Regions from separate parts of the Homo sapiens genome. Here regions 1 and 2 are each linked to region 3. Evidence: promoter capture Hi-C in 16 types of primary human blood cells and fetal thymus (Javierre and others, 2016). All regions are on one chromosome and are shown on one strand. Each heading gives the region's core, a stretch centred on a gene start or on the middle of the fragment in contact. The rest is flanking DNA. Distances are from core to core; before and after follow the strand shown. Region 1 has its middle 3.7 kb from the start of GPR61. Region 2 overlaps AHCYL1 (adenosylhomocysteinase like 1). Region 3 holds the start of EPS8L3 (EPS8 signaling adaptor L3).

What was found. The method cuts DNA at HindIII sites, captures the fragments that hold promoters and counts their contacts. A CHiCAGO score of 5 or more calls a contact.
Region 1: a contact is called between a fragment that was not itself captured here and the fragment with the promoter of EPS8L3 in region 3, in 11 of 17 cell types (M0 macrophages, M1 macrophages, erythroblasts and 8 more). The highest score is 13.2, in M0 macrophages.
Region 2: a fragment that was not itself captured here is called in contact with the fragment with the promoter of EPS8L3 in region 3 in 2 of 17 cell types (neutrophils and monocytes); the score reaches 7.9 in neutrophils.

Annotation. Positions count from the first base shown.
Region 1 is chr1:109,534,656-109,537,644 of GRCh38, forward strand. No RefSeq gene overlaps it. Among named protein-coding and RNA genes, the nearest start is that of GPR61, 3.7 kb to the right of the region's middle. The HindIII fragment of the contact is 1,965 bases long and covers 470-2,434 here.
Region 2 is chr1:109,994,687-109,997,696 of GRCh38, forward strand. The region is part of intron 1 of AHCYL1 (adenosylhomocysteinase like 1); the gene reads left to right. Among named protein-coding and RNA genes, the nearest start is that of AHCYL1, 11 kb to the left of the region's middle. The HindIII fragment of the contact is 8,580 bases long and covers 1-3,010 here.
Region 3 is chr1:109,762,417-109,765,362 of GRCh38, forward strand. It overlaps EPS8L3 (EPS8 signaling adaptor L3), which reads right to left and starts at 1,507. Exons shown (of 19, transcript NM_133181.4): 1 at 1,406-1,507. All of the region lies in intron 1 of LOC124904258 (a long non-coding RNA gene), which reads left to right. The HindIII fragment of the contact is 2,750 bases long and covers 408-2,946 here.

The DNA of each region.
Region 1 (2,989 bases), core at 202-2,701, 230 kb before region 3:
GTAGTTGCTCAATAAACATGTCTTGAATGGAGTGACATAGAGCCTGCAGTTTGGGCTGCTAGGAGCTGAAGGAGGTGGGAATAGGGTGCTCCCAGGCTTCAGGAGACCATAGGAATGTACTCAAAATGGGGAGACAAGGACAGTACAGAGGTAAGTGGGGTGTCTGGGCCTTCTCAGAACCTTGCTGGGGAGGAGGAGCTGAAGAAAACAGACAGCTGGGAGGTCCTAGGGATATGGTGGGTTGAGGAAGGGCCCCAGGAACCCAAATGTGCGCCATTAATGACAAGCTGAAAAAAGGAGCAGGACTCCGGAGGCTTGGGTTCTGGTTGCACCTCCTTTACCCTCTAGCTGTGTAGCCTAGCCCTGGGCAAGTTCCCTTTCCACTCTAGGCCTGTTCATCTGTAAAATCAGGAGTTAGACACCTGACCTCCTGTGATCCTTTCAGCTTTGCTACTCTGGCCCTATGTCAAGCTTCTGAAGCAGGGTTGTGCTGAGCAGTGGGGATTTGTGTCTGCCTCCCCAGGCTTCAGCACCGGGGATGACCCCACCCAGGTCCTGGACAGTATTTCCCAGAGAAGGGGACAGAGCCCAAAGCCATGGGGAAGGAGGTACGTGGCCTGGGTAAGCTGCGTCCTGGCTTGGAGGATGTGAAAGAAGTTCCAGGGGGAGATAACTCCCCTCCAATTCAGAGCAATTAAAGTGCCAAGTTTTCAGGCCCCAGGGAAGGGTTTTGGGGAACTCCCCTTTCCATAACTGTGCTTCCCTGTCTTCTTCCTTGCCTCATCCCCATAGTATAGATCTGGGGTTTGAACCCCAGTTGCTCAACTGTGTGGCTCTGCAAAAGTCACTTAACCTCTCTAAGCCCCAGTGTCCATATCTGTAAATGGAATCATTGAGACTAACAGAGAAGATTGTGTAAGACTACTCACACGAATACGCCTAGTGCTGTGCCTACTGCCAGAGCTCCCTTCCCGAGTCTGGAAAAGGACTGTTAGGGCAGATGGCCCCCAGGCCACAGGGCAAATGACTAATTCGCTTTGCCCATGCACTGGGTGTAGGGCAGGGCCTGTGGAGGGACAGGCTGATGATGGGAAGGTTGGATGGGAAGAACATGCAGAGGATATTACCCTGATTGCTAGTGAGGAAGGGCCACTCAACCTGTAGACCTATTTATTGTGTTATTAATAAATAGGAGACCCAGGAGCTCTCTGGGACTTTTCTGTGGGGTTCCAGCATTGAGCCCCTGCTGATGGACAGGAGGTGGGCAGCATGGGAAGGGCCCTGGTCCATAGCAGGCCTGGCCTAAACATGCACTGTGGGTGTTCCTGCCACTCTTTTGAGCCTGGTTCATCCGAGGCCCCCAGTTTCTAATCTGGTTGGGAAGGATTTATTTTTGGGTCCCTGTAACCTAGCAATGGGCTCACATGACCAGTGGCAGCTGCAGGCTGAATATACCATTGGATCTCAGCTCCTGGCAGGGGGTGTAGGCCAGACAGTGGGGGAATAAAGAGAATGGAAGGGCTCTCACCTCTGCTTTCCTCTGCCTCCCTCCTCAGCCCCTTGGCCTGGCTCCCAGATGCTGGGCAGGGTGAGGTGAGTGCTTGGAAAGCAGGCATGGCTGGTGCTGGTACAGGGGGGCCCCAGGAAGCCAGGAACTGAGCTGTGGTGTGGAGGTCCCAGCTGTAAGCCTGCTGTCTGGTTGGCAGGGGCGGGGGGGTTGGGTGCCCATGCGGATGGAGGTGGATGCCAAGAGGACACAATGCCAGCAGCTTGGCGGGGGAGGCCTGGCTAGGGAGTAGGCGGCTGACAGGCAGTCTATGTTGTGGGATCTCAGGGACATCCCTGGTCGATGCTGGAATCCCAACGTTCTGCTTCTTCTCTTTGTTCCCTGTTAAATTGTTAATATTCCTGGGAAAGAACACATTAAGTTGCTATCAGTGCAAATGGGTTTATCAACCTCTTTCCTGAGAGCAGATTCTGACACAAGGCAGAGAAGGAGGGTAGTGGGTGCCACTGAGCAGGCAAGGGGCTCTAGGGAGGGGGCAGTGGCAACATAAGAAGTCTTCAATGTTTATTGAAGAAGTGGATGGATGAATGAAAGATAAACTTGATTGGCTTCCAGGTCTCATCCTGGGGCAGAAAAGGGTGGATGGGCAGACACGACCCTGTCACGAGGTGCTGGTGCACAAGGGTTGGGTAAAACTGTACCAGGGAGCAAGTCTAGGATGCAAAGATCAGTCCTCAGCAGCAAGGGCCCTGCCATGATACCAAGGGAAGGGGTGCCACTGTTGGAAACAGGGCCTGGTCCCCGTCCTGTAACAGGATTCCCTTCCTGGGTGTGTGCACAGCATAGTGAGCCATGGATCTCTTATGTGGTTTGGGGGATCACACTCAGTTTCTCCATCTTGGTCTTCTTGCCCCCTCCATTGTGCTAAGCTTTACTAAAAGGAGGGACTGGCAGGTGGGGTTGGGGGTGTGCTGTCAGTAGCTACTCCACACCCTGACTGAGATCATTTAATAAGATACAGCATAAGAAGTGCCTCCCAAAGTGGGCCTTCAAGAACTAGTAGCATTATTATTATTATTATTTATTATTATTATTTTTTGAGACAGAGTCTCACTCTTATTGCCCAGGCTGGAGTGCAATGGTGCGATCTCAGATCACTGCAACCTCCACCTCCTGGGTTCAAGCGATTCTCCTGCCTCAGCCTCCTGAGTAGCTGGGATTACAGGCATGTGTCACCATGCCTAGCTAATTTTTGTATTTTTAGTAGAGACGGGGTTTCGCCATGTTGGCCAGGCTGGTCTTGAACTCCTGATCTCAAATCATCTGCCCGCCTCAGCCTCCCAAAGTGCTGGAATTACAGGCGTGAGCCACTGTGCCCAGCCAGCATGATTATTATTATTATTTATTATTTGCCCACAGGCTAGAATAAGCAGTTCCCCCGCCGACCTCCTGAGCCAAGATGGTTCCAACAGCTGGAACATG
Region 2 (3,010 bases), core at 386-2,885, 230 kb after region 3:
TGGTATCCCACTTATTATTCAATACTTGAGGGTTCAGTGCCCAGCTTCTGAGCACCAGCTTTCTTAGCAAGCAAGACATGAAGATTCCCAGTGTTCATTTATGAGAAGTAGCCCAGCTGGCTTGTCATGCTGGACTAGATGAATTGTGAATGTTAATTATATTGATAATACAGTGGCCTTGGTAACAGACTTGTAGCTGCTGTAGAATCTGTTTACTTCAGGTTTGTAACAGAAAAGAGACCAAGCTGGTTGGGAACATGGTGTTCTCAGTGTAATAAGATGTATTGTAAGTCCAAGGAAAATGCATCTTGGTGGGGCTGACCTTATTGCACCCCTTCCCCAAGATTTCCCGGAGAGAAACATTATTCTGGGGATAGTTTCTGTTCTTGTTTGCCAATCAATAATGAATTGAGGTTGGCAAAGGCTGGGTTTTTAGTGGAAGTGGGGTAAAGCATGTTTACAAATCATAAAGTTTAGAAGGAGAACACCTGTGTTAAGCACCTTATTTCTCTACCTAGTTTATAATTAGGAGGGGATGGTTGATGAGATTAGTTTCGGCCCTTGCATTCAGGAGGTGGAGCCCCTCCTATTTGGGGAGCAGGGGGTTCATAATTCTGTACATTCTTTTCTTACTCCGCAGCGAGGGGATTAGCTGAGCACTGGGCATGTCTGGAATGAGAGCACTTTGCCAATTTTTACTGAATTTGGACCAAACTAATAAAAATACAATCTCGGTCTTCCTCAGACAGTCTCTTTGTCATGTTCTCCTAACCCCTAGGATCCATCTGATGGATTGTCTGTTCCTAACAGATGGAGTTGGCATTAAAGGTAGATTCTCTACTTCCTTTGCCTTATTGTTTTATTTCTGAACAAGGCATATCTAATGCATTTGTTCCCTGTATTGGAAGTTGCTTTATCAAGAGCCTAGTAAACTCAGTGTACTTGTGTTTCCTTTTCAGATCCTGCTTAGATTATTTCTTAGATCAGCACTTCTCATTCTGTGGAAGGAGAAGAAGGTATCAGTCACATAGAGGGTTTTTTCGCAATAACTCATTACCTGGCTCTAAACTAGAGCTGTGTAATCAGAATGGGGGAGGAGCTGAGAGTAAGAGAACAGATGGAGAATGGGTTGGCATTTTGAAACAGCTTCACCAGATAAACTTGAAATCTCCCAGATTTAGAACCATTCTTTTAGATTATCTAGCAAGACTGGCCAACATTGTTCGGAAATCTAACATTGAGATGGTAATGGCCCAGGCACGGTGGCTCACGCCTGTAATCCCAACACTTTGGGAGGCCAAGGCAGGCAGATCACCTCAGGTCAGGAGTTCGAGACCAGCCTGGCCAACATCTCTACTAAAAATACAAAAATTAGCCGGGTGTGGTAGCAGGTGCCTGTAGTCCCAGCTACACAGAAGGCTGAGGCAGGAAAATCGCTTGAACCCATGGGGCGGAGCAGGTTGCAGTGAGCCGAGATGGCATGACTACACTCCAGCCTGGGCAACAGAGCAAGACTATGTCTCAAAAAAGAAAAAAAGATGGTAATGCAGCTACCAACTCTCCTGGATGATTTTGATCACGAGGAGAAATCTTGGTCCTCCCTCATGTGAAAGGTCCTGAAAATAGTCTACCGTTGCTCTTTTTCTCAATGTATTCAGAGTAAACCATGACCAGGAATCATGTAGCCCCATCTGCTCAGGGTGCAGCGTCCCAGGGCCTGTGCTAGGCACTTAGGGTGCATCAGTGAACAAAACAAAGATTCATACTCTGTAGAGCTGACATTCTTGTGAGGTTATTATTTGGATCATTTAAGTCCAGTGAAGTGGTTCTTAACCATTGGGGGTTTGGAACCCTCTGAGAGATGTGTACGTATTCCAGCAAAATGCACACAGTCATGTGTCACTTAACAAGGGGGATACATTCTGTAAACTGTGCCCTTAGGCAATTTTGTTGTTGTGCAAACGTCAGAGAGACTTTAAATGACTGGCAACGCAGTAGGTTTGTTACACCAGCATCACCACAAACATGTGAGTAATGCACTGCACTACGATGTCACCAGGCGATAGGAATTTTTCAGCTCTATCATATTCTTATGGAACCACCACTGTATATGTGGTCCATCATTGACCAACCTTCATTACACAGCACAGGACCTTGTAAGGGGGAATTGGCAGCCTGCAACCCATCCATGGACCCAGGGCTAAGAACCTAGAAGACTTGTCTAGATTTGAGGATGTGGTGATTGGGATAAAGCCAGGCCCTGAATTGGGTGTTTGGAACCATTATCTCCTCGCCAGACTGGGTTGTAGTTTCTTGATCTGTACAGCCAAAGCAGTATGTAAACAACTCAAGGATATCACTAGAAAAAGAGGGAATGGCTAAGCCTTCTCTAAGCTAAAGAGTCTATGTTTTATGTGAAATGCTAAGAATGATTCTGACTCTGTTCTCCCTCTTACCCTAGTTTCTAGTTGGCTGGGCTTCTGGTGCTCAATAGATTAAAAGTCAAGTCAGAATAAGAATTTCCCTAATGTGCTAATTTATGTTATGAATTCCTAGACTGAGAGTGATAGTAAAGTTATAAAGATCATGAGGACATTTTAGTGAAATTCTGGCTTCAAAAACACAGAAAGTGACAGGAGTTGAAGGGCTGTTGAAATAGCCAGAGTAGAGATTAGAGAAAGATGACAGGAAGAAAAGGAGGGCAGAACTCAGACAGTCAACTAAGCTGGTGAGCCAGTAGCCAGGAGAGCAGCTTTCTCCTTAAGCCAAAGTGAGCAGATCTGAGACTCATGCAGAAAAATACTCCTTTTTGGTCTTGAAGGGGTCTGTCACTGTTGCTTTGTTACCAAATAGTACCCGGGATAAAAAGCGGGACGGCAGATAAGGGTTTGCCTTAACATTTATACCAACGTTAATATATCTCTGTTGCTGGAAAAGTTGGTGTTAAACTTGAAAGAATGGCCAAACCCTGCCTGAGGGTTAGTGCAGTGTGTAACGCGTACTGCAGAAA
Region 3 (2,946 bases), core at 257-2,756:
TTAAATTCTAGCTCAAAGATCACCCTCTTGGTGAAGCCCTCCTGGACCATCCAACCCCACCCTGCCCAGGGTACCCTCCTAATGCTGCACTGGACCTTGTACATTTATCTCCAGCAACAATAGTCACAATAGCCACCACGGTGCTGTGAGCCTGGTGCTGAGCCCCTTACCAACATCCTATCAGTTTCTCCTCACTGCCGTCCACTTGTACTTACTTGGCGCCACGTGCCTAGCACTGTTCTAACGGCGTTACCTTCAGTCACTCTAATCCTCAAAACAACCTCACAAGGCAGGTACTGGTATTGTCCCCATTTACCATATGAGGACTCTGAGGCTCAAAGACGGTAACAGGCCTGAGGTCACAAATGAACGTTTAATAGAGAGCAACCCAGATCTGTCCGATTGCAAGCTTCGTGTTTTAATGGTTTATAAACATGCCTCTGCCGCTGGGCTGTGCGCAGTCACAGAGGGAGTCTAGAGAACATACATGTTGAAATGGAGTGGAATTAAATGTGGTGTGTGTGTCCCGGGTGGGGGTGGTGTTAGTCTGTGCGGGTCAAGGGTATGTGTTATCCAAATGAGGTTTGTGGGTATCCACATGTCTACATGGTACACCTCAGTTGTGCAGAAATACTGGACTACCCCGGGTAACATGTGAGAGAGCAACCCATACCCTTGTTTATTAGGACTGTTGTGAAAATGACGTAGGATCTGATAAGATGACTCAGTGTGGAAGGAAATAAACTGCCAGTGAACAATTAAGGGAATGTGGAAGGGACGGCTGGATCTCTGGTTTCCTTGTTTGGGAGGACCCCTTTTCTCTCCAGGGGTAAGGCGGGGCTAGAAGCCTGTTCCCCTTCCCCAGCCTCCCCCAACCCCCATTGTAACACTTCCTGCTTCTCCATGCTCTCCATGCAGAAGAGGAAGTGAGGTCTGCCCCTGGTCAGCCCCACTCCCCACTCCCTCAACACCAGGGTGGGCCCTGTGGGGCCCTCTAGGTAGGTAGGTCAAGGTGGGGAAACAGCTGCAGCCAAAGATTCCCTACCCCAGGGAGGGAAGAGGGAGCTGGCTTGGCCTGCCTTGCCCCTTAGGGGTAGGGGAGCTGTGACAGCCCATTTCCCCCCTTTAAGCCCTAGATGTAGGGGTTTGGAGCAGGGAAGGCCATCACCTCATAGACCCTGGGGCAAGCATCCCAGAGGCCCTTCCGGAGCCTGGACCTCGCTCTGCTTTCCAGCCCACCAGCCAGCTGCTGAGTCCCAAGCCCCTCCTTGGGCTTGATCCCCTGGGCTGCAGCTGGGAACAGGCTGGAGACCTGGCCTGGGAAGCCACTGAGTTGCCCCCACCTGCCCTGAGATCCCCTGTGACTGGGCTGGGCCCCGATCTTCCCTGGGGGCCAGGCCCTTACCTGGGTGCCAGTGAAGGCCGGGTGCCTGGTCCCCCCAGGAGGCTGGTCTTGGAGCAGGTGGTCCGGTGCTGGTGGTGGAAGGACAGCAGCTTCTCTGCTAGTGGCCACAGGCAGAGCCTGCCTTTGATGAGGTTACAGAGGCAGCCACGCCTGTGCTCTTTGGACTCTGGTGGGTGGGGAGGCTTCCTGGTCACTAACCGCTCAACATCAACCTGGACCTGCGGCAGTGTCTGTGCTGACTGGCGTCCCCAGCTTAGCTAGAGGCCCCTGCTTCCCTGTTTCCCCCACTGCTAGCCTTGGGGTGTGGCCCCCTCTTCCCTCTGCCTTTTAGGTGCCTACTCTGGGGAACAGGTCAGCATCAGGCACGGGGCTGGGACCAGAAGAAGAGAGCACACATGGCCCAGAGTCTGGGTTCTGTGGTGAGGGCACAGGTCGGCTGGAGGTGGACTCCAGGCTTGGGGGAAGCTGTGGGCTGGCGTGTGTGCCATGCCTGTGCGTGGGTGGCACCCATAGGTGTGTGATCCTGTGTACCTGGGTGGTGCCTGTGAGCAGGACATGGATCTTGTCACAGAAGATGGGGACTGAGGCCCCTGGGGCATTACATGGAGCGCTGAGATTCCCTCTGGCAGGGCCCTCATTCTGTCCCTACTGTTGTCCCTTCCAGCAGGAGCCCCCTTACCAGCCCTTTCTCGCTCTTCCACTCTCTTTCCTTCTGTACCCCATCTTGTGCCCAGACCCCTGGTGGACGCCTGGCCAGCTTCAGCAAAGATGGAAAACGGAGGCCTGCATCTATCTCTAGTCATAAACCTACCCACTTCCTGCACTCCATGGTATCGAAAAATCTTTCTTGGCACTCAGAGTGGGCCAGGCTCCCCTGCCCTCTGGGAACTCACAGTCTAACCAACAAGGCCAGGTATAAACAGAAACCAGGGAGCAGGGCAGGAGGGGAGGCGGGGGCGGGGGAGTGCCAGTGAGCCTCGGACCCTCGTGGGCAGAATGCAGGGTCCCGGTGCTGGGCCCTGTGATGGAGTGTCCTGTGGAGTCTGAGGGCTGGAGCACTCCCATCTTTAGCTTCCCTGGAACTATCCCAGGATATCTCAGCCTTCTCTCCCATCACCACCCAACCAACGCTGCCCTGGATGGCCTGGAGTCCATGCGTCAGATCCTAGGGAGGTGCCTTCCCTGTCTGGGCTGTGTGTGTCCCTGGGAGAGTCCAGTGGACAGCCAGCTGCTGGGGCCCAGGGATCAGGTGCCTGTGAGGCCAGCACCCAGCCACAGCCCCATGGGAAGCAGTCCTGGGGTTCTTTCCCCTGGGTCCCCATCTTGTGGCCCTTCAGCTTCTTTTGGGATAGCACAGCCTGTCCCCTCGTTGCCTCCCCCAACTCCGTGAAGGCCACAGTCATATTTCACCCCAGCCCTGGCTTGGGGCTCAGGCAACACCTCATTTCTGCCCAGCTCAGGCCAGGCCCGTCCTTCCCATAGGACCCTCCCCAAGTCAGTGTGAGCACAGCAGGGACTCCTGGGGGGGCTCTGGGGCAAGG